Linked DNA regions of Homo sapiens: all the other regions are linked to region 1. Evidence: promoter capture Hi-C in 16 types of primary human blood cells and fetal thymus (Javierre and others, 2016). All regions are on one chromosome and are shown on one strand. The core of a region is centred on a gene start or on the middle of the fragment in contact, and the rest is flanking DNA. Distances in the headings are between cores, read along the strand shown.

What was found. The method cuts DNA at HindIII sites, captures the fragments that hold promoters and counts their contacts. A CHiCAGO score of 5 or more calls a contact.
Region 2: the fragment with the promoter of NDFIP1 here is called in contact with the fragment with the promoter of ARAP3 in region 1 in 2 of 17 cell types (megakaryocytes and total CD8 T cells); the score reaches 7.5 in megakaryocytes.
Region 3: a contact is called between a fragment that was not itself captured here and the fragment with the promoter of ARAP3 in region 1, in 3 of 17 cell types (fetal thymus, total CD8 T cells and megakaryocytes). The highest score is 5.9, in fetal thymus.
Region 4: a fragment that was not itself captured here is called in contact with the fragment with the promoter of ARAP3 in region 1 in 17 of 17 cell types (endothelial precursors, activated CD4 T cells, megakaryocytes and 14 more); the score reaches 20.2 in endothelial precursors.
Region 5: a fragment that was not itself captured here is called in contact with the fragment with the promoter of ARAP3 in region 1 in 5 of 17 cell types (total B cells, naive B cells, total CD8 T cells and 2 more); the score reaches 7.9 in total B cells.
Region 6: a fragment that was not itself captured here is called in contact with the fragment with the promoter of ARAP3 in region 1 in 16 of 17 cell types (endothelial precursors, activated CD4 T cells, fetal thymus and 13 more); the score reaches 9.5 in endothelial precursors.
Region 7: a fragment that was not itself captured here is called in contact with the fragment with the promoter of ARAP3 in region 1 in 6 of 17 cell types (endothelial precursors, M2 macrophages, naive B cells and 3 more); the score reaches 7.0 in endothelial precursors.

Annotation. Positions count from the first base shown.
Region 1 is chr5:141,680,580-141,683,890 of GRCh38, reverse strand. It overlaps ARAP3 (ArfGAP with RhoGAP domain, ankyrin repeat and PH domain 3), which reads left to right and starts at 1,661. Exons shown (of 33, transcript NM_022481.6): 1 at 1,661-1,718. RefSeq lists a silencer at 1,612-1,661. The HindIII fragment of the contact is 6,366 bases long and covers 1-2,262 here.
Region 2 is chr5:142,107,257-142,110,586 of GRCh38, reverse strand. It overlaps NDFIP1 (Nedd4 family interacting protein 1), which reads right to left and starts at 1,808. Exons shown (of 8, transcript NM_030571.4): 1 at 1,550-1,808. The coding sequence starts at 1,612. RefSeq lists silencers at 1,379-1,448, 1,519-1,648, 1,709-1,978 and an enhancer at 1,556-2,057. The HindIII fragment of the contact is 16,858 bases long and covers 1-2,885 here.
Region 3 is chr5:142,126,460-142,129,905 of GRCh38, reverse strand. The region is part of intron 1 of NDFIP1 (Nedd4 family interacting protein 1); the gene reads right to left. Among named protein-coding and RNA genes, the nearest start is that of NDFIP1, 19 kb to the right of the region's middle. The HindIII fragment of the contact is 2,749 bases long and covers 360-3,108 here.
Region 4 is chr5:141,959,169-141,962,349 of GRCh38, reverse strand. It overlaps a transcript of RNF14 not described here. Among named protein-coding and RNA genes, the nearest start is that of PCDH12, 2.6 kb to the right of the region's middle. The HindIII fragment of the contact is 3,146 bases long and covers 46-3,181 here.
Region 5 is chr5:142,143,201-142,146,298 of GRCh38, reverse strand. NDFIP1 (Nedd4 family interacting protein 1) reads right to left here. Exons shown (of 8, transcript NM_030571.4): 7 at 1,623-1,728. The coding sequence ends at 1,625. Among named protein-coding and RNA genes, the nearest start is that of NDFIP1, 36 kb to the right of the region's middle. RefSeq lists an enhancer at 832-921. The HindIII fragment of the contact is 2,078 bases long and covers 294-2,371 here.
Region 6 is chr5:141,942,194-141,945,345 of GRCh38, reverse strand. PCDH12 (protocadherin 12) reads left to right here. Exons shown (of 4, transcript NM_016580.4): 4 at 1-1,765. Among named protein-coding and RNA genes, the nearest start is that of PCDH12, 14 kb to the left of the region's middle. The HindIII fragment of the contact is 7,155 bases long and covers 1-3,152 here.
Region 7 is chr5:141,975,840-141,979,292 of GRCh38, reverse strand. RNF14 (ring finger protein 14) reads right to left here. Exons shown (of 9, transcript NM_004290.5): 5 at 463-990. Among named protein-coding and RNA genes, the nearest start is that of RNF14, 8.5 kb to the right of the region's middle. The HindIII fragment of the contact is 866 bases long and covers 818-1,683 here.

The sequences.
Region 1 (3,311 bases), core at 412-2,911:
GTCAAAGGAGTCCCCTATCTCCCAGGAATGGGTCTGCCTTAGATCTCTGCTGAGCTCTGTCACTGGCTGGGAGCAGCCCAGTGGGAAGCTGGCCTTAGATTTCAGAGAGAAGCAGCTGGGGCCATTGGTTAATTTCACTCCTCACAGTGTAAGATCTGTGAGGAGCATTCTCACTGCCACCACAGTTGCCCATCTGAAAAAAAGGACATGGTGCAGGGGTCCTGTCCAGGGTGGTAGGTGAGCATGGTAGTTATAGATATAGACTTGGAGGGTTGGCTATTTTCTAGCTGCAGAGTCTTGAGCAAGTTATTTAATGCTCCCTGTCTCCTTATATGTAAAATAGAGGTGATAAAATTTCCTATTTGTAGGGATATTTGTGAGGATTAAAGTTTGCAAAGCAATGTTTACATAGATCCTGGAGCACGGTCAGCTCTCAATAATTGGTAGCCCTTATTATGGCTATTGCAATTATTATTTTATTACTATAATTCTCTTTCTCAAAGGGAAGGCCGGGAAAGTGGGGCTCCAGTAGGTTGAAGATGACAGTCCCTCCCCTAGCTGAGGCAGCTGGAAGAGGTGGGAACCACTTCCTCCCACTCCCCTCTTCTTCCCCTGAGGCAGGGGTCTTCCCCTAGCTACTGACAGTTCCTGTGTCTGCTGACTCACAGCCAACTTCCTCTCATACAAACAGGAAAACACAGCCGGCCAGCGCCCCCGCCACCCCCAACACATACACACACACACACACACACACACACACACACACACACACACACACACACACAAACACCCCCCCCCCACACCCAAACACTGGTCCTGCTCAGAGAGGGAAGTGCCTCCGCCCCTGGGAGACAGGCTCCAGGACCGGGGTTCCGGCAAGATTAGCGAAGGAGAGAAGGGCCATTCCTCTTCAGGCCTCCCCGGCATCCCCCCTGAAATTTTAGGGTGGGAGTTGGGGAGAAGGGGCGGCTTCTCCCATGAATGAAACAGCTGCTTGCTTGGTCACTGAGCTTGCAGGGCGTCCGCCTGTCCCAAAAAGGCAGCCCCAAACCTTGGTTTGGAAGTAGGGATGTGCCTTGCGGACCTTCATCCCTCGAAGGAACCTAGGCCGGGCCCTTGGGGATGGAAGTGGGGAGAAACAGACGGGTACCCCTCTGCTGGGCCTCTGCGCTTGTTGCCCAGGCCAAGTCTCAATTCTGGATGTCCAGCTTCCGTCCCCACACTAAACTGGTTGCCAGGGTCCAGCCACCCTTCCGGGCGTGGGAGAGGTGCCCTGGGGGATTAGGGCTCGACCTTTCCTCCTCCCTTTTGGCAGGACTGGAGGGCATGGGAGCAGCGGAGAGGATGCAAAGCCGTCCCTGGCACTCTCCCTTTCTCAGTTTCTACCTCCGTCCCAGTCTCCGTCCCGGTCTCTGCCTCTTTGTCCCTCTCCCTGAGGTTGTCTTCGTCCCAACGTGTTCTGGTCCTTTCTCGGCCTGCGAGAGGGCAGACTGGGGGCAGACTCGGAGATAAGCGCGGCGGTTGGGCAAGAAGCCCAAACCCTTTGGAGGCCTGCGCTTGCACAAGGAGTGGCCGGGGCCCCGCGGAGGGAACCGGCCGGGCGGGGCGGGGCTGGGCCCGTCGAGGGAGGGCAGAGGGGAGGCGGGGCCGGCGCGGCGGGACCCAGAACCTCGGACGAGCGGCGGGCACCCGCGAGCGGACGGCGGCCGCGTAGTGAGGTGAGGACCCCCGCGCCCCCCGGGTCCCTGCTTCCCAGACTCCTCCCCATCACCTTCTCGAGGGCCTTCGTGGGCTCCCAGGCCCCCTCGGCGCCGGCGGCCCTCCCCATCCCTGCCACGACCCGCCCCTCCCTCCTGCTGCCCGGCCTCTGCCCCATCCCTCCTCGCCCCCTCCCTCGTCGCAGCCTGCGCTGCCCGCCACTGCCCGCCCCGCCCCCGCCACTCCTGTCCCGCGAGCACCTCAGCTCCCAGCCCCGTGCTGTCGAGCCCGGCCTGAGTCACCGGGAAACCGGGCCCTGAGTCAGGGCCCGAGGCTCAGCACGCGGGCCCTGGCTTGGGAATGAGGCCCAGCTGGAGAGAGGCAGAGGGAGGCCAGCAGTGATGCTGGGACGGAGAGGGCGTCCTGGTCACCGACAGAGCACAAGAGTAACAGGGAGAGAGCCTAGGCCGAGGCGGAAGACAGAAACCCAGGCTCAGAGGCAGACAGAGACACAGATACAACTCAAGATCTGGTTAGAATTGTAGACTGAGTCAAGGACAAGCTTAATAACAGAGAGCAAAACAGGGTGGGACAAGGAGAGGGACAAAGAAGAATTGAGAGGTTGAGATGGAATGGGGCAGGGACAGTGACAAGGCAGAGATAAAACTCAGGGGCCACAGAATTAGAGACAGGTCTATGAAATAGACCAGGGTCAGGGTCGGGGTCAGGCTGGTGGAAGGGGGACAGAGCACAGAGACCTGAGCCCAAGGGAATGAGCAGGGAAAAGGCAAGCTCAGAAAAGGAAGGCTTGGAGAAAGCAGAGGTGGGGGGATGGCATTTCACACTGCCAAATCGCTACAGGGCATGTGCACACACAGGTGAACAGCATGTGAACATGCTGCCGGTGGGCAGAGAGTCCAGAAGCCTCTGGAGTACCCCTGACCAGAGGTCAGGCCTCATCTCTCTGGCATCCCCATCCTTATTCTTCAATTAGCCTCCACCCAGGGCCGGGACCCCACACATTAGGACTGGTTAGGGCTCTCCCGGCAGCCTGACCAAAGCAGGCAGGATGTGGAGGCGGCCAGGGCTGGAGGGACAGGAAGGAAGTCTGAGCAGAGACAATAGGTGGAAGGGGAGGAGGGACTGGGAACAACCAGGATTAGGACGGCAGGCCTGCATACATCGGCTCTGGAAACAAGAGGGAGGGGGCGTCTGCACCTCCTTCCTCCTATCTAGGCTGCCCCTCTCCCTACCTTACTCCAGAGCTGATTGGCCACATCATTGGCCCCTCCTCTGCATCTCCCTATCCCACTCTGACCCACAGCATTCTAGCATCTTGTCCCATGCTTACTCAGTTGGATGTGCAGTCAGGCAGGAGCAGAGCTTTGACCCAGACCCAGGGTGGGCAGGAACTGAGGGGCCAACTCTAGCACTGACTTACTGTGAACCTGGGGCAAGCCCCTTCCCCTCTCTGGGCCTCAGTTTCCTTAACTTCAAATGAAGTCCCTTCCCTAAGTAGAGAGCCATTGCTGTTGTTCTGGGATGGCTCTGCTTCCAGATCGCAGGCCTTTCAGCATCTTTCTTTGGAGGAAGATTGGAGGCTGGTGCTCACT
Region 2 (3,330 bases), core at 559-3,058, 430 kb before region 1:
TAAAAAATATTAAATGCCACACTAAGGAATACATGATTTTGATACTCCAGCAAATTTTTTATATTCTAGCAGTATGTCAGCATTACCTAATAGCTCAAGAAGATGGCAGTACAAAGAAAAACCACAGCTCTTTTGCTCGTTAGCCTTATCCAAGTCAGGATGAAAAGGATGAAATCAGATGACAGTATACAGTAGGGGTGATTTGCAAACACTGTGGTGACAGTTAAGTGGCATCTGTTATTCCCATTTTATTAAAGCAGTAAGGAACCCGCAGGCTGCCCAAGGTCATAGAAAAAAAGCATGTGCTAGATCCATGTGCTCTGAAGAGATCTAAGGATTAACTGCATTGCCACAATTTGGGCCGTGTTTATAAAACCAAGAAGTGAAATTCTTAACTAGTCATTTTGGGAGTCCAAGCCTGAGTGGGGACGGATTGCAACACATGGCTGATGATAGCAAAACAAACCAGTAACCGGCCGGCCGCACCAGGGTTAATCTACGTTTTCATCGTACTGGCTGGCTTTCCTTACTTCTAAAATATAAAATTGTAGATCGTCTAAGATAGGACATTTTATTTGATAAAAGGAGGATTGACATCTGTATGCACCGAAAGCATCTGAAACATGACAAACACAAGCCGTTATTTGCGGTTCCAATCAACATCAGTTTACCACCTGGCTCAATTCCCACCATTACTGTATGTTAGATTAACACTTCCAAAAACCCTGCAGAAGGTCTCTAAATTTCCTGGGGGAACTTAGCTACAGACGCGGAGTGAAACAAGCAGCTCTTTTCCCTGGGGCCTCAATGTATTAAATCAAACCCGAGAAAATGATCCAATCATTTCCTATACATTTCCTCCCCAGCTATGCCATCAAATCTCTTAAAACGTCACTTCCAAGCATTTAAAATACACCCGGCACACGCCCTGCAGACTTCATCGTAGCTCTCCCTTTTGGGGCATCACCACAGCCAAACATCGCCTCTTCCAAATCTACTGCAAACTGCGGGCTTGTCTCTTGCTTCATTTTTTACTTTTGTCTTAAAACGGAGGCGAGGGGGATGGGTTTCGACAAACTAGGCTCTGAAACCCTGAGCAATAGCATCTTGCTGTGGGGAGCTATCGGCAGCAGCAGAGATTTTAATCTTTTCTCTCCACCCAGTTTCCGTTTCATGCTTTTTTCTTTCTTTCTTTTCCAATGACATCAAACCAAAGGTGGAAAAATGAAAAACGAATGCCTCAGATCGATGCCGCCTGTGGGTCGCGGGTTCTGACTCAGGGACCCGCCCGCCCTGGGAAATGCGGGAAACGAGGCCGGGAGGAGGACTTTCCACCGCCGGAGTCCCACCTGGGGTCGCAGACGGGCAGGCCGGGCCCGTGGCAGCCTCGAATCCGAGCCCGGGGCCCGACCCGCCCCTCCAGGCCCAGCGCGGCCTGCCAAGCCCCGGCGTCGAGTTGGCCGCGGGCCGGCCAGAGAGGCCTGAGGCGGCCAGCGGGCAGGGCAGAGCCAGGGACCGGAGTTCGGGGCTGGAGTCGGGCGCCGCTTACCTGCTGGTACCGGCTGCCGCAGGCCGGCTCGACCGCCGCCAGCGCCGCCAACGCCAACGCCATGGCGCAGCCGGCAGCAGGGAAGCAGAGCGAGCGAGCGAGCTAGCTGAAGGGGCGCGGCCGCTGCGGCTTGGGAGCGCTGGGAGGCCGAGGGGGACGCGCCTTGGGTGGGTCTCGATGGCCGCCGCCGCTCCCGGGCGAGACGCTCTTCTCAGGCTGTAAGCACCGCCGCCGCCGCCGAGGCTCCGACGCGGCCCCTGGGGAAGAGGCGGGGACTACGACGACGGCGCTGCGCCGCCGCCCCACCCCCGACTCGCGCCGCCCTGCCCGGCCCGGCCCGGCCTAGCCTAGTCCTGCGCCGCCGCCCCGAGGTGCACCGGCCCTGGTGTAGTTGCTCCGACGACCTGAGCCTCCGAGGCTCAAGTGTTGTATTCGATTCCACTAAAAACGAATTACTAACAGGCCAGCCCAAAGCAAGGGCGATGCTGCTGATGAGCACCTCGTGCCAAGCACTGAGCTTCACCTACGTGCCCTCATCCAGCCTTCAGCACAACCGCCCTGACGCAGGGACCACAACCCCATTCTCGAGGTCGTTGGCAACCAGAGAGGTTGACAATCTTCACAGCAGCGACCTGATCCCTCGTGTCTGGCAGCAGAATCGTGGTTCTTATTCACTCCCTTCTTTTATCTGCCGTACTCATAAACCAGGGGTCAGCCAGCGACAGGGAGGGGGCCAAATCCGGTCTGCCACCATGACTGTGAAAAGTACATGAAATTCAAGTTTCAGTGTCCATAAATAAAGTTTTATTGGAACACAGCAGCACCCATTTGTTTGGTATGGCCTGCAAACCCTATAATACTTGCTATCTGACATTTTACAGAAAAAGTTTGCTAACCCTAAATCCTTGAGAACTGCTTGGATCTCAAATCCTACTTAGGGTGGATGATTATAATAGCATCCTCATGTTTATGCCATCCTTTAGTATTTTAACAGCCTCATCTGCGGAATCGGAAACAATATTTTCCAAAAAAGCTCCCTGACTCGGTGACATGAAGTCAAAACTTGAAGGGTTTGGCCATGCTAAAGGCTTTCCCGACCACAGGAACAGGTGCAAAGGGCGGTCCAGAGAGAGATTGTCTTGTGGAAGAACAGAAAGGAGGCTGGCATAGCTGCCATATAGGAGATACAATTATCAGTGTTTCACAGATGAGGAAGTTATGCCCAAAGAAATTAAATATCTCACCCAATGACACAGAGCTACTAAGGGGTGAAGCTGGAATACAACTCCATTAAGCCAGCTTTCTTACCCAGTATTGCACAACTAAATTATAAGCTTTGTGAAGACAAGAGTATTTGTCTTTTAAATCTTATTACCTCCCAATGCCATGTAGCACAGTATAGCTATATAGCAGGCTTGCAAGGTCTGTTTCTTTCACACCCAGCCATCTGCAATTGCTTCTACCCACATGTCCTACAGAGAAAAACAAAATCTTCCATCTCTGAAGCTTGTTGCAATTCCCATTTCTTCTTCATTGCCTTTCCAAGTTGGCAGTGTAGAGGTTATATTAATATGATTATTGTCTTAGCTTCTAATTTTGAAGTTTAGTTAATTATGTATTTTAAAAGAGAACTGTGTTTAGAACACACCCTGAGGTTTCTGTATATATGAGAAAATTGTAATCAATAAAAACTCTAGATGTTTACCATCTTCACTTTGAGTTCTCTCTCAGCATCCAAACTCCTCTATATCTGTCGCTATTTCCAAGTATTAGTCTCACAT
Region 3 (3,446 bases), core at 485-2,984, 450 kb before region 1:
TAGTTTCGCTTTTGTTGCCCAGGCTGGAGAGCAATGGTGGGATCTCGGCTCACTGAAACCTCCACCTCCCAGGTTCAAGCAATTCTGTTGCCTCAGACTCCAAGTAGCTGGGACTACAGGCGTATGCCACCAGACCTGGCTAATTTTTGTATTTTTAGTAGACGTGGGCCAGGCTCGTCTCAAACTCCCGACCTCAGGTGATATGCCTGCCTTAGCCTCCCAAAGTGCTGGAATTACAGGCGTGAGCCATTGTGCCCGGCCACAATCCATTAAATTTTAACTGATCATCTCAATCTCCACTCACTATGCTGTTCAAAACCAGATGTCAATAAATTTTTCTGACTAATACTACAAAAGCTTCAATTTCAAATGAATTCTTGTGTCAAATTCTCATCAGCATCTACCATCTGGGTACATTTTTTCGAATCCTAGTAATCTAATGTTAAACTTAAGGTACTCCCAAAATAGCTGTATTATAACCTAAGATAATTTTTCCTTTTAAACAAAGACATGTGGCCAAAATAGGTGCAGTAAAGCCAAATGCTCCTGGGACACCGAACTAGGAATTACTTAAATAGAGTTCTTGGGACCATGGTTCACCTAAAATACTGGTTTTAACATTATTTGAAGCTCTTGGCAAGGTATTCTTAGCCTCCTCACACCTAACCACTCTTGTGCTGTGGGAAGGTCACCAAAAGAAGCAGAAGAGTCAGCAGCAAGAACAAAGGCAAATACAGACTTTTCGAATATGTTCCCTTAATATACTGTAGCCAGTAATGAACTTCATTTAAACCTAGCTTGGTTTATACTTAACCCGTTTTATATTTCCTGAGCTTGGTGTCAAAGTAATCACGTTACCCCTGCATAATTTAGGTCTCAGAAAGGAAGCATGACAATTCTAAGAAATACAGAAATCCAAAGAACAAAGAGGTTAAGAGGTCTTCTATGACAATATTTATAAGATAGGCTGCCTGTCTCCTGGAAACTTGGAAATGTTAAATTTGATCATCCCCCACCATAGTAAAAGATGACAGTGCAAATAAATTCCAGCCTTCTTAGAACCACCAATTTTCACTTTGGTAAGGAAAAAAACACTTCCAGGTGAAGAGTTTGCTCCACTAAAATTCACTACTTTAGAATAGTGTACTTTTTTCAATTGAAAAATAAAAACAATTTAAAACACCATTATGACTATGGTATAATCCCAAGACCTCACTGTACAGGCTTCTCACTCTGGCTTATTTCTATAATGCTGGTGATAAGATTAGGCTCCATCAAGAAAGCTGTTTAAAACAAAACACTGCAATGTAGGGGGATCGCGGGGAGAGGCAATCACCTTCAAAAAGAGTAAGCACTTAGTGCCTGCCATCTGCATGCATAATAACTTGCTGAACAATGGAATCCTTAAATATACATCTTTTTACACTTCAGGGGCAACAAGTCAGGCATTCACTAACAAGTGGAGGAACCATGTGCGCTAGAACTAGAGTGTGCTATAAAATTGATTACTTGGTTCCAAAATTTATTTTTAAGATTCCCCTTTTCCACCCCTGGGAACCCTTCTGTGCAGCCTCCCTGCCATGTCCCTGGAGCTCAGGGATCTTCGGGCTCTTTCCTGACACTTTCTGAAAGAATACGCGGCATTGTCACGTTTGGGTTAGAGTTGGAAAGATGCTCAGTCTCTTCCATCAACTGGGTCAGTGGAAGCCCGAGTCCAATTTAACTGTCACAGAATCTGGGTTGTAGGGGATACTCAGAGAGACAGATCTGAAAACTGGGACAGATCTGGGAACTTCTGCTCTCAGTGCACAGAGATGTTGGGCAAGGGTAGGGGGGATATCCTTTGAGTGACTGTGATAGATAATAAATAGCTGTTGGACACTGGATTTTTTTTCCTGTCATATAATTTCTGACCAATTTTACTAAACTTCAAATATGATTTATTTTTTTGAGACAGAATCTCACTCTGTCACCCAGGCTGGAGTGCAGTGGTACCATCTTGGCTCACTGCAACCTCTGCCTCCTGGGTTCAAGTGATTCTTCCGCCTCAGCCTCCCAAGTAGTTGGGATTACAGGCATGCACCACCATACCTGGCTAATTTTTGTATTTTTAGTAGAGATGGGGTTGTGCCATGTTGGCCAGGTTGGTACCAAACTCCTGACCTCAAGTGATCCGCCTGCCTCAGCCTCCCAAAGCGCTGGGATTATAGGCGTGAGCCACCATACCCGGCTGAAATATGATTTAAATGGCATTTTTTCCAAATACAGCTATACAATTACCTACACAGGCCATACAAAGTAGAGTTTAATACAGAACTACCTATAACTACCTATGCCTCCATCGCTAAGAAATAAATAATCCAATCACCTGAGAATTCAGATGACCTTTCACTTTCTCACACCCAGAGTGTGCCATTACTCTTTTCCTGATTACCTTTGCTCCCTTCTATGTGCTGAGCAGACTAGAATGGCTCCCCAGAAGAACCCTAAAACTCTTCCTACTTCAGATATGTCACAATCTGCCATGGTGCCTTTGGCCTTGATGACCTTCAATTTTAAGAAAACATTTATTTACAAATAGGTGCTACTAAGGTTTTGTTCTCAAGTCACACCTGTAATCCCAGCACTTTGGGAGGCTGAGGTGGGCGGATCACTTGAGGTCAGGAGTTTGAGACCAGCCTGGCCAACATGGTAAAATCTCGTCTCTACTAAAAATACAAAAATCAACCAGGTGTGGTGGCATGCACCTGTAGTCCCAACTACTCGGGAGGCTTAGGCACGAGAATCACTTGATCCGGGGAGGTGGAGGTTACAGTAAGCTGAGATCAAGCCACTGCACTTCAGCCTGGGCGACAAAGTGAGATTCTGTCTCAAAAATAAATAAATAAATAAAATAAAATAGAGCGTTTTTTTTTCCCTCCTTATCACCTTCCTCTGTATCTAGGTCCTATTGTTATTAAAAATAAATATGACATTTTTATGAATCTCCAACACAGAAATCATATATAGTTCTAATTCTAATAGAAACAAACTTGAATTTAACACGTTTAAGACATTATACCCTACAGATTTAAACTATTATTTGAGTTCCCAATCAGCAAGAAAGCTTCACCACCGCCCTCCTCACTAAGCAGTTCTAAAATGAGTTGTTTTTAAGCAATAGCAGAGCTGGGGCTAGGATTAGGGCTAAGCAAGGGGCAACATTTATAACTGTAGCAAATGGCAGGACCTAAAGGCACTTAAAAGTCATTCTTGGATTATCTATATTTACTAAGAATGAGAGAACAACAAAAAACCCTACACTAAACAAAACCCATAAATCCTTATATATGAGAAAAGGTATCAACATACACCTCAGAATTCATACAAACAAACAAACAAAGCACGTGAAAAATAATGCTGAAGTATCCAGTAAGTCCATAAAGTTGCAAGTATTTTCACTACTT
Region 4 (3,181 bases), core at 369-2,868, 280 kb before region 1:
CTGGACCCTTTTGAGAACTGCCGCTGTTAACCAAGACATAAAGCTTTTTCATTTCTTGAAAGGTCCTATTTCTTGGCAAATTTCTCCCTGCAAAGTGCATTCTTTTTTCTGCACTGACCCCAGAAACAGGTGCCATTGTGTGGGAGACAGCACCTGTCATCTGTCTCAACAAAGTCCACAAAGTGCCCTGCTAGGAGCAGATAACCCAGAACATCTACCTGAGTCTCCCAGTCAAGATTCCTGGTCTGACTAGGAATCTAACTTCAACAAGATCTTCCTGAAAAAAGACGCTGAGCTTGGACGGTCCAACCACCTCCCTACCTGGGATAAGCCGGAGGATGCTTCTTGGCTTCCCCAAAGCTGTCTTGGTGGTGATGCTGTGGCAACCACAGGGGAGATTCACGAGGAGAAAGCCTGGAAGACCAGAGCCCTGGAAGTGGGGCAGCCAGCCCAGCGGGACATTCGTAGGGGCGAGGTGTGATCTCAGCCTTCATTCAGCTGGCCTGGGAGTCCTCCAAGGGTCAGAGTCACACCTTACTAGTCTGACCCCTCAAGGTTCCTTAGGACTCCAGGTGTTTTAAGAAGATTCTCTGAACCCCCACCCTTCCCACTTCACCCCTCAGCCCTCCCTGTGGTTAAGAACCCAAGTGTGAACAACCCCAAGTTTGGTGGTTAGTGAGGCCTTCAAGCACAAACCCTAATCCTGCCCTTTTAAAAAAAATATTTTGGACTTAAGGGAGGCTGTCCTCAATTGTTTCAAACCTATTTCAGAGTACCTCCACTCCTTCAAACCTATTTTCAAAACTCAGGAAAACGTCGCCTTTCCAGACGAACTCTAGTGACAGCTCCATTCACCCCTTGGCATTTGACTGCTAAAGATCAGCTGACCCCTGCAGCCAGAAGGAGGAGAGAAAATTGCTAAATGGGGACCTCATTTCCAGAGGTGATCACCTTAAAAAAGTCTGGGGCCTTGTTTGCCAGCTTTGAAATCTCAAAGGGTAATCTTAGCTTCATGTCCCCAGTGTGAATAAAACAAACAATAAAAACCACCTATGAAATCTAAATTCAAACTTTCTTGCGACCTATGCATCATTTTTTTGCATTCACATTCCCAGTCAAAACACAGACACACACACACACACACCCAACAGATATATAACTGCATGTAAAATATATATAGATAAAACAATGTCCTCTGAAGAATATAAATGTTAACACAAGTAAAATTATCATGAATTCCATAACTCCTTCTGTGGCCTTGGTCCACGTTAGGTTTTCCATTAAGAGATACTATTGTCATCAGTGAGTAGCTTCTCCTGTTGTATTCTTCTGTGTAGCACGGGGCTGGAGCTGTGGATATTTATGAACCCCAGGCACCCACTTCCTGTTTTCGTGGCTGTCCCCGGTCCCTGCCTCTGTGCCGTTTTCTCTGCCTTTGGCCACCAGATGGCGCTCTGGAAACGAGTTTTCTGCATCAAAGCTCCCCTGCATTACTCTCAACTAGGCTCCCTCCCTCTTCTCTGTTCCCTTCCAAGCCATTTTCCAGGGTGCAGCCAAAAGGCCTTTCTGGAGGGCACATCTGTGTGATCTTGGGCAAGTTACCTAACGCTGTGTGCTCAGCATCTTCAATGTGATGGTATGGCTGTGAGTGCGTCATGAGAGGATGTAGGTAAAGCACTTAGGACAAGGCCTGGCATGTGGTCGCTGTTCTCATTATCCTGCGTAGAGCTTTTCAAAAGCACTCCACGACCTTCAGGACAAGGTCTAAATTCTTAGCCATGGGAACCCAGGCCACTGCATCATCTGAGGACCCCTGCTTATGTCCCCTGCCCAACCTTCCTCCCTACACTACTGCACTGACCCTCTTGCAGCACAGCCAGGAGCCAGCCTGCCCACTTCGGGGCCTTTGCCCATTTTGCCCCTGCCACCAGCTTTGCCTGTCTCCTGCCTATTCAACTTCCTCGGGCTCACTCCTCCAGGTCCGTCAGGATTCAGCGTGTGCCCTCCATGAGGAGCCTCCCGGACCCCCAGGCCTGATTCCAGAGCCATTCTACTGGCCTCTCGCCTTTCATTTTCCCTGCCCCCACCTGCGACTGTCAGCCCCTTGCCTTGTTCACTGTCAGGCACACAGGGGGACGATTGCGGGGCGGATAGTGAGACTGTCACGTGGGCTGCCAGCAGGGGGCAATGGGCACCCTTGTGTCCCTGAGCTCCCAGGGGCTCCTAGTAGCTTAGGCAGCACCTTGCCCACACCAAGCTGAGGGAGACCTGAGAAATGGGATTCCTGCCAAAGAGGCAAAGAAAAAAGTGAAGGGACAAATGCAAGGCCATCTTTGCCATTTGCGTATGAGGCATAAAACTTGGAAGATAATAAACAGCAAAATCATAGTCCTTATGTGCTGAGTGCTTTCTCTGAGCCAGGCCCTGTGCTGAGTCCTTACCCCACCTTGTGAGATCGATGACAGCCCTCAGAGAAGGAAACAGAGGCTAGGAGAGGTTAAGTCCCTTGTGCAGTGTCTCAGAGCTTGTGAGTGGCCTGTCTGTCTCCAGGGCCATGCTGTAGGAGGTGGCCCTGGATTCAGGCCCCTTGCTATGGTTTAATGGGTTTCAGTGAAATAGTTGGGAAACCTCAGGAGTGGGATATGGAGTTAAGGGAAAGAAAAGCCAGAGAGAAAGGGAAGGAGTGCAGGTGACTGTCCCTTAGCCACCCCAGTCCTGATGACCACAGGCCTCCATGCCAATAAGCCCTGACTAGTGCCACTTGGGTCCAAACATGGCATCTCTGGCCCCAAGGGCTTAGTAGCAAACACCCATCTAGGGAAGCTGGCGTTCATTCTCATCACCTCAAATGCTTCATGAGCCTCAGGGATCAACCTTGAAGTGGGTATAAGGCTGGGAGAATGTTGGGGGCAGCAAACTGAAGGGCACAATAAGAAGCAATAAGGCCACCTCAAAGCCCACCCAAGCAAACTGCTCATTCACCTCCTTCCTTCCTGAATTTCACCTTATGAGGAGGTGAGTGGAAGATAGGGTATCCCTTAAAACATCTAAAAGGAGAGTTGGGGGCAGCAAAGGAGATGTGCTTCACGGGACTCTTATAAACAAAACTGGGGAGAGAAGAATTGGAGGAAGGGGGAAAGACATAGATGAAAGGGAGGGGAAGGTGTGGGAGAGGGAAACG
Region 5 (3,098 bases), core at 83-2,582, 460 kb before region 1:
AGACTGTGTGACTGAATTCAAATTCATGACATGCTACACATTTTCAGACATGCAATCAAAGATTCCTGTTTTTTAATAATGAATACTAGTTTTTTTAATAATGAAACTAACTTTAAAAGCAGTTTAAGCCTTCTTTACCTACATACATTTAATTATCCATGTAAAATGCTTAATATATTATCTGACACATGGAAAACTCCATGAGTGTTAATTTTAGTTTACTATACTATGCTTGAAAAAATGTTTGTTATATTCAAGAGGGTCTCATTATATGATTCTGTTGCCTAAAAGCTTTCAATGCTGTTCTATCACCTGGAAAATCAACTATGGTAGATGCTTTATTTTCTTGAAGCATACCTCCTGAGACCACCACAAGTCTTCAAAATTGAGAACCTCACGATTAGTATATGATTGCCTATATAAACTGACACTCTGCGAGTACAGAACAAATTCGTGCTCCACGTGGGCTTAGTCTTGCATTGACCCAACATGTCGCTGGCTCTATCAATTTCATGGTTCTACTGCAAATGGGCTTGGTGCTCAAGGTATCTGAGAAACTTGTTTCAACCTGACTTTTTAGCCTTGACCCTCAATACTCCTTTATGCCCCAATCAAGCTGCTATCCTCTGAACAAGCCCCATACTTCCCTATTTTTGCTCTTCACTCTGCCTCAGATGATTCTGAAATTCTTCCCCACACTCTCCACTATCATGTAAAGTTTATCTGAACTACACCACCTATCCTTTATAATGCTTTGCCTAAGACCTTCAACTGGACTGGCCTCTAGGTGGTGCTCAAGGTTCCACTCTATGATTAACACAGTCCCCAAAGCCCCAAGGAACAAACAGCCAAGTCCAAGAAAGCCTATTAGAACTTGCTACCACAGAGAGCTCTCTCTGGTGTACTCTTTCTCAAGATTCTCTACCTCTTCCTTCAGGCAGCCATTGATGTAAGATGGAGTGTCAGCCTCTGGGGAAAATCATGTGTGAATCAAAGAGCCTTGGCAGGGCTTAGTCCTCCTGTTCTAGGCAAGGGAAAAGGTCCTTTCTCCTCTTTTCTTGAGTTTGACCTTCCTCACATTAGAGTGGTATCAGAATGTCAACCTGAAGAAAGCCATGGGGAAAGCCTCAATGACAATTTTAAAAGATGGAAGACTTGGTGGGCTTGTCAGCAGCCCAGACAAAAGGAGTTCTTAAAGTACTACACAGTCTCTCCAGGTTCTGGGATTTAGGGGCAGAGATGAGTGATTAGGCCTGAAGGGTTCCTTCTGAATGTCATCCTCTGGAACTGGTGCAACAGTAAGCAGTGGCTTCAGGATGCTGGAATTCAGTCAAGCAGCCAAATATCCCAGCTTTCTGATGACTGCTAAGACCCCTGCCTCTTTCACACTGTCAAAGCATGAAGTAATGATTTCTCCTATGGCAGTTTTTCTAATTTGACTTTATCAATAGCTTTTTGTAAAAATCCCTGTTACTAGACAAGAAACTGCTAAAAGGCAGGGACTGTGCCTTCTTTACTTTCTCTATATGCCCCTATCACAGATACTTACTCTAAAACTGAACAGAAATCTACAATGTAGCACATGGTTACACTGGGACTAGAATAAATTTTTTCTTTAATACCTTTAATAAATAAAGAGAACTCTGGTCCTGGGGAGATTTGAGAAAGTTTCTGGCATCTTCCGAACTTTTGCATAATTGATAAATCCTCTGAGAAACAGGAGAAAGCCTAATTTAAAAAAGAAAAGTCATGAATGAATTTATAATTTCCATGTTAAGTCCCCTCCCCAGAAATCCCTCTCCTGATAGCGATACATTGTTATTTTTCTGCTAAAGGTAATCAAAACATTAGCAATTTCCTCCAGAATCTGCAGAGGATTTTCATACCAAATTATCCATCCTTCAATGAGAAGGTATAATGTAAGAGTCAATAGTGTCTTTTGCACATTCAGAATTGAATTGGTCTAAAAAGGAAATAAAAAATAAGATGGAGCCAAACATTTACATATGAAAGCCTCATTGAGAAACATCAAAATCTACCTATTGAGTTCCAAAAAAGCATTCCAAGATAATGAACTCCAAACAACAACAACAACAACAACAACAAAAAGAGGTTATAACTGTGTTTTTCTCAAGTAAAAAGAAAAAATGTAACCTTCCTTGTCATGGGCTGTTTTTTCTGTCGACAGTATATAATGTTGTCCACTAGATGTCAGGATCCCCTTATCTATTACAGCAATTCTCATCGTCTCAACTTGAAACTTTGTCTACTATTATTATTATTATTATTATTATTATTATTATTAACAGACAGGGTCTTGCTCTGTTGCCCAGGCTGGAGTGCAGCGGTATGATCACAGCCTCTGCAAGCTTGAATTCCTGGGCCCAGATGATCCTCCTGCCTCTGCTTCCCAAGTAGCTAAGATAACAGGTTCATGCCCAGCTAATTTTTTAATTTTCTGTAGAGATAGGGGTCTCGCTATGTTGCTCAGGCTGGCCTTCAACTCCTAGGCTCAAGTGATTCTCCTGTCTCAGCCTCCCAAAGAGTTGGGATTATAGGTGTCAACCACTGTACCCAGCCTATTTCTCTATTCTTAGTAAGACTCTTTTTGTGTGACTACACCAGAATCTATACATTCACAAAAGTTTGTACCTCCTAAAACTGTCAGCAGAGAGGTGATATGCCCCTCCAGTGGAAACTCAGATACTCCTCCTGGCCTTCCTCTTTCAGAGATGGTCTCTGAGCCTTTAGCACATTTTTTTTTTTAAATACTTTTACTGGGATACTCAGTGGTAGAAAATGGTACTTGGACAGTTGAACTGATTTTTAGCAGTAACCAAGAGCTGTCAGCTCTGAGCTTGGGGAACATCATTCTGTTTGGGACCCAAAGCAACAAGTGACTATTGAGCAGGGGTTACCCCTTCAAATACTAAGTTGGGGTATGGTGGTGGGATCTTACTGAACTGGAAGGCACATGACCTGTATGGAGGAGACAGCAACAACTCAGCTCCAGCCAAAGGGTGCCATGTGAAATGTAGGCTAGCTTTTCTTGATATTCCAACTTTCAAGAAAAGTAAAAACATTCAGGCGTTTTATGT
Region 6 (3,152 bases), core at 251-2,750, 260 kb before region 1:
GGCCTGAGGATCTGTGGACAAGAGCTGGTTTCTAAAATCTTGTAACTCACTAGCTAGCGGCGGCCTGAGAACTTTAGGGTGACTGATGCTACCCCCACAGAGGAGGCAAGAGCCCCAGGACTAACAGCTGACTGACCAAAGCAGCCCCTTGTAAGCAGCTCTGAGTCTTTTGGAGGACAGGGACGGTTTGTGGCTGAGATAAGTGTTTCCTGGCAAAACATATGTGGAGCACAAAGGGTCAGTCCTCTGGCAGAACAGATGCCACGGAGTATCACAGGCAGGAAAGGGTGGCCTTCTTGGGTAGCAGGAGTCAGGGGGCTGTACCCTGGGGGTGCCAGGAAATGCTCTCTGACCTATCAATAAAGGAAAAGCAGTGATTCATTCTCCTGTTTGCACCTGTCAAGAGGGAGAAGGGAAGAGTAATAGAGTGGGGTTTATTTGTCATCCAATCCCTGGCAAGACCGTCACACTGGGCCTGGACAGGAGTGGGGCACCTTGGTACACAGTAACAGGTACACAAATAGCAGACATGTGTGCTCTTACCCCTGTTCCCCTATCACTATGTTACCAACTAATCTGCTTCTCAGCTGCAAAATTAGAGCTAAGAAAGCACAACTATTTATAAAGCATTTACATGAGCCAGGCACCAGGCTTTACAATAGGATTTAATTTGATTTTCCAACAATCCTGGGAGGGAGGTATTATTAACCCCATTTCACAGACACGGATATGGGGCTTGGAGAGGTCAAGTGGCTTTCCCAAGATCAAGCAGGGAGTAGAGCCAGAGCCAGGATTTGGACCCAGGCTGGGCCAACACCAAAACCCATGCCTTCAACCTTGACACCAGCCTGCCAACCAAAGACAGGAGAAGGGAAGGCCCTGGAGGTGAGCTGTTGGCAGCAGTGAACTTGCTCGAGCTCCCTCGGGAAACACTGTTGAAAGGAACATTTCCAAAGCCATCCAGGCCCGCACCTCTCTACATTCCCAAGCACAAGGCAAAAGGAACTTGGATCTGAACTGATGCAGACCCGTTCTTTCCCAACAAGTAGCTCTTCAAGTGCGGATGTCATCTTTCCCAACCCCATTTGCGGGTAAACCTTCCTCTGTCATTGCAGGTTCAGGCTTGTGAATCCCAGAGGACGCTGTGTGAACTGGGTCTATGAAATCGGCACTGACAGCAGCCAGCCTTCCAGGGGATGGGGGAGGGAAGAAACAGCAGATATTTTCCCAAGGTTCAGCTTTATAATTTTCTTGGAAATTTCCGAGCAGCCAATCAGCTAGCTTCTAAATAGTGTGGGTCTCTCCTGGACACTGCAGGCAAAAGTTCCTCTATCTGCTCCTCTTTTTGTCCTTTCTTGGAGCTCAGTGCTCATGTTCACTGTTCAAGAAATGGGCCAATCATACTCCCAACTAGGGATAATGTGCATCATACATACTTGGAATACAGTGTGGTATCATTATTCCATTTTACAGATGAAGAAAATGAGGCTCCCCAAAGTTATGAGTTTCAGGGGCAGAGTTTCTCCTCACCTCACTCTAGGCCAGAGTGATCTCCTTACAGAATCTGTGATTTTCAGGCTGGATCACAGAACTGTTGGGTTCTGTGGGCCAGTGAGAGAAACTGGGGGATATCAAGCAGGCAGGCAGGGTCTCCAGCCTGACCAGCCAGGTGCCTGCTACAAAGCAACACTTGATGAATAGCTGTTGAATGGATGTATGAATGAATAAATGTGTCAATAAATGCTTCAGAGGCCCCTTTTATCCATATTGGAGCTCCAGGTAGGACTTCATTAGAAAAAAAGACTCTGTGATGTAAAAGCAAAGTCTGAGAACCACAGTACTGGAGTAGACCATGGTGACCTCCCAGTTACCAGCAGATTTTCAGTGCAGAGCAGATGTTGGGAGGGTGGAGAGAAGAGAGTGGGCAGGGGGAGATGACCTGAGGAAGCTGGAGCTATAGCTGGCAACTGGATCACTAGACACATGGGACCATTGCATCATTCTAGTTCAAAAGCCCTAAATCTGTACTCCTTGGGCACCCTGAATACTAGGTAAAACTTTGTGTCTAGACACTTTTTTAGGCAGAAGATACAAAATTCTCATCAGATTCTCAAAGGAAACCTTGACCTTTAAAAGGTTACACAGCATTGCTTTAAGATACTATCTAAACATCCACAGACATGGGCAGTTGTCATAAAGAGTCTGAACTTTATCTATTTCAACTCTTCATTTTATAGCCAAGAATATAGAAAGAAACGGCAGATGACTTGCCCAAGGCCACCTGGCAGGTTTGTGGGGGAGAGCTTTCCAAATTAAGACATTTAACTGAGTGCTTGCTCAAATCAGGATTTGGATCTGGGATTTAGTATGGTGGTCTTTTTAATACATCAAGGATTCTTAATCTGACGTCTTTGGTTAGACTTCAGGATCTATGAACCTACTGAACTACATGCAAAATTGGGAGGATATGCATTTTTTCTATGGAAAGAAGTAGGTGCTTAGATCAGATTCTCAAAGAGATTTCGGGCCCAATTAAGATTAGAAAGCACTACAATCCTCTAGGTCAGCCCTCAGCCCTGCCTTCCCTGCAGAACCTGGAGAACTCCTGCGTAGAGCTGCTCCTGTTCTGAACTTTGATCAGAATGGGGGTGTATGTACGTGAGGGACAGTGTTCTCTCCTGCACCATGTGTCCCCTCCTGATGAGCTGATACCAGCACCTTTCCCAATAACAGCTCAGAGTGAGACCGTGTCTATGGTAACAGAACTGGGTGTGTTGAACAGGAAGGTTACAGAAATTTCTTGACATCAGCCAAGATGTCAAAGCTGAGACTTTGGACACGCTCAAAACAGTTTCCACCAAGATGGGCTCTGTCCCCTGGGAGACTGAGGGAGCAGGCGAGCCAGCAAGCACTGTTACATGTCGTCCTAATTTGGAAAGCATAGAGGGACATTTTTTAAATCAATAGTCAGCCGTTCTCCAGCACCAGGAGTGCAATGCAGTGCTCACTCAGAGCCTGGAGGCAGCTCAGAGATTGACAGGCAGCTGCCTTGTCTGTCACCCAACTTCAGTTTGGCAGCTCACTGACGCTGCCTCTTCTCTGGCTGAAATAAGAGTGATGTGGCAACCACTACCTTTGAAACTCTGGAGAGA
Region 7 (3,453 bases), core at 1-2,500, 300 kb before region 1:
GGGTGACACAGCAAGACTCCATCTCAAACAAAACAACAACAACAACAACAACAACAACACCACCACCACCTAAGTAGGCTGTACTTCTGCTGAAGTCTATAAAAAAGTTGGTTAATCATTCTAAGAGACGTCCCCTTCAGATGCCAACCTCACACAAGAATAAGCTAGTGATTCCCCAAGGTTTATGGGATCCTACTAGCAGATATACAAAGTAAATTATCACAATTACTTAATAACTACTTTAACACTCATCCTTGCCCACTGCAAGGCCAAAGGAAGCATTCCATTTGCTTAAGCAGTAGACTAAGACCATAGCATTTTTAATGGATACAGCAAAACAACTTGTGGGCTGGCTCCAAGGCCTCGGACTGCCCCATGAGCCCTATCAAGGAAGTTCCTGAGATGATATCTCCATTTATGGAAGAGAATTAGGAGGCAACCATCAGCAGGGTAAACAGTTACCTGACCAGGAGTGGCCACCGAAGGGCACTTTGGTTCTGGGCAGTTGAGGCATTGAACCTGGCCATCTCTGATCTGGATTTCAAAGTAGTCCTTCAGACAGGCTTTGCAGTACACATGCCTGCACTCCAAGAAGTACATGCATTCACTACCCAGCTTCTCACAGAAACAGATACTGCACAGGAACAATTTACTATTAAAGCATTTTATCTGCTGAGCTTGATCAAAGTCCAAGATTTCCTGGATCAGATTTGACAGTGATTCCACATCCTGCACTGCTCTCTCATCCACAATTTCCTCTTGGTCTACATCAGATCCAGCAGCTCCTCCAAAATCTAGCTCTGTGTTGGGAGAAGCTTGAGCTGTCCTTCTCTGCACTTTTTTCTGAGAACCAATCTTGAGCTCAAAAGGAGAGACAATATTCAAGTATGCTAGGGTCTCTTCCTTAAGAAATTGCATCCAGGCAAACAGGACCACGCTGCCACGGTGTTCTTCCCATAGGTTGTCTAAGTGCTTGCATAGAGCAGATAGCTAGGAGAAAACACATGAAGATGTTGGTGAGTTTGGAAAGATGATGCTGCTGCCAACTCCTGGTTTCCCTAGAAATCTTTTCCACTTGCAAGTTAGGCCCTTATTCTAACACTATTTTTTACTGCTGTGATACACTGTGCTACATACAAAACAGTACAAACATTCTTACTGGAGCACTTCTTAAACTATTCGGCAACATGAGCCAGAGTAGAACATAAAGTCAGAAGCAAGAAGTACCACGAGAAGAAGAGAAATAGCAAGACTCCGTAAGGTAGAGAAATAGCTGTACATTTTAGCCACTGAAATGGAAGACTTTTTTCTGTTCTTTAATCTTTTAGTACTGCCATATACCTCATGTAGGACAAAGAGATCTAGTTCTAAAAATAAACTATTTTTCTTCCATTAGGAGTCCTAGCCCTGTTCGTATCCTAGAATAATGGTTAGAAAAAGAATAGTTTAAAAATACTATCCAAGTTTTAAAATTAATTCTTTCAGTTTTATCAAAAAGTCAACTCATCTGAAACAATCACTAACAGAATTCAACCTCAGAGTCCTTGTTCAGATTTACAAGCTGCTTTTAAGTAAGCAATCTGGGCTTATATCAGATCCTGGTTAATGGAGGGAAGCTGCCTGATATTGACCCTGGTCCTAATCACAAGCCCTCAGCAAGGTTTGGCAGCCATAGAGAAAGCTTACACTTCCTAAGCTAAGCAACCAAAATTAAATTATTTGGAATTTTCCTCTTTAAAAGTGGTCTGTTCAATTTGAAAGGCAAATGTTGGAGAATTTTCCATTAGAAATATAAAATATTTTTAACTAGAGCACAGGAATTATAAGCAGCTTTTCTTTTTTAGGTAAACATCCAAAAATATGCCTTCCAGATGGCAAACAAATTTTGTAAATTTAAATGACAAATGAAAAGGGACCAGATTTTCTGTTTCTTACACTCTGTGTAGTGCCACTGACTAAACCCTGCATAGGTACTACCTTAAATACTTATTGATGAGTTAAGATTGAACAACTAATGATTTTTCACATTTGCATAAATATCCTTATAAATCAACCATGCTTTTGAGAAATCTGCTAACATCTGTAAAATGTGATAAATACTAAAAGGGAAGCTATGAGTGCTGTGTGAGCTACCAAGTCCTATGAAGAAGCCATTCTCCAACCTCTTTTCTACCCCAGTCCCTTCTCAAGAGAGGCAGCTGGGGCTGGGCGTGGTGGCTCATGCCTGTAATCCCAGAACTCTGGGAGGCCAAGGCGGGTGGATCACCTGAGGTCAGGGGTTGGTGATCAGCCTGGCCAACATGGTGAAACCCTGTCTCTACTAAAAAATACAAAAAATTAGCCAGGTGTGGTGGCGGGCGCCTGTATTCCCAGCTACTTGGGAGGCTGAGGCAGGACAACCACTTGAACCCACTAGGCAGAGGTTGTAGTGAGCTGAGATTGTGCCCCTGTGCTCCAGCCTGGGTGACAGAGCAAGACTCCATCTCAAAAAAAAAAAAAAAAAAAAAAAAAAAAAAGAGAGAGAAAGGCAGCTGGAATGCATGTAAATGGAAGGGGGACGGGAAAGAGACTGTGTAAGTATATTGGGGGAGGAATAAGGAATAAGGTTTTAGAAAACTAAAACCACTTCCCTCTGTCTACCCGCCCCAATTCAGGGAATGACAGCTCTATGTGTCAATTTCACCATTAACAGGTGAGAGTCATAATGCCAAGGAATCAGGGTACAGCAACAAACAAGAACTGAACCAAGAAGGAATATAAGAGACCAATTAAAATGTTAATTATATGCATAAACATTTATTTGATTAAGAATTCTACTGTAATTTTAGCTGTAACACATAAAACAACTCTCTTCCCCAGCACACACCTCCGCCCCCAAATCCAGCATTAAGTAGATGCTGGTTGGCTGGAATCTGAAACCACAACCACGCATCCAGTTAATCTGTCCCTGTTTTGTGCGTGTGTGTGCATGCACGTGCATGCACGCACATGCGTGGATGTAAAGTATGAAAAGCTCTCTGGTGAAATAGGACTATGAAGATCTAAATAATTAAGCCAACTATCAGTGGCCTAAATGCCAAACAGTCTTGATATTCCTGGACAAATCAACTGTCTTGCATCTGTTGCCTCTGGCACAGACATTAGAATGTAAAGTAATACTCCTTTTTATTCTACCTGTGTTATCCTTTTTAAGGTTTAATTTTGCTTTTAAACCATAAGCTCTAGTTTGTGAAAGTACTCTCACTTAAAAGATTAGATTGGTGGATGGGGAAATGAAAACTGTATGATCCAAAGAGAAAAACTAATGAGCTATTCCTTGAGGTCAGCAACTCTGACATCTTTTGTCTTTTTCTTTTTTTTTTTTTTTTGAGACAGGGTCTCTGTCTGTCACCCAGGCTGGAGTGCAGTGGCTCAGTCTTGGCTCACTGCAATCTCTGCCACCCAGGCTCAAGT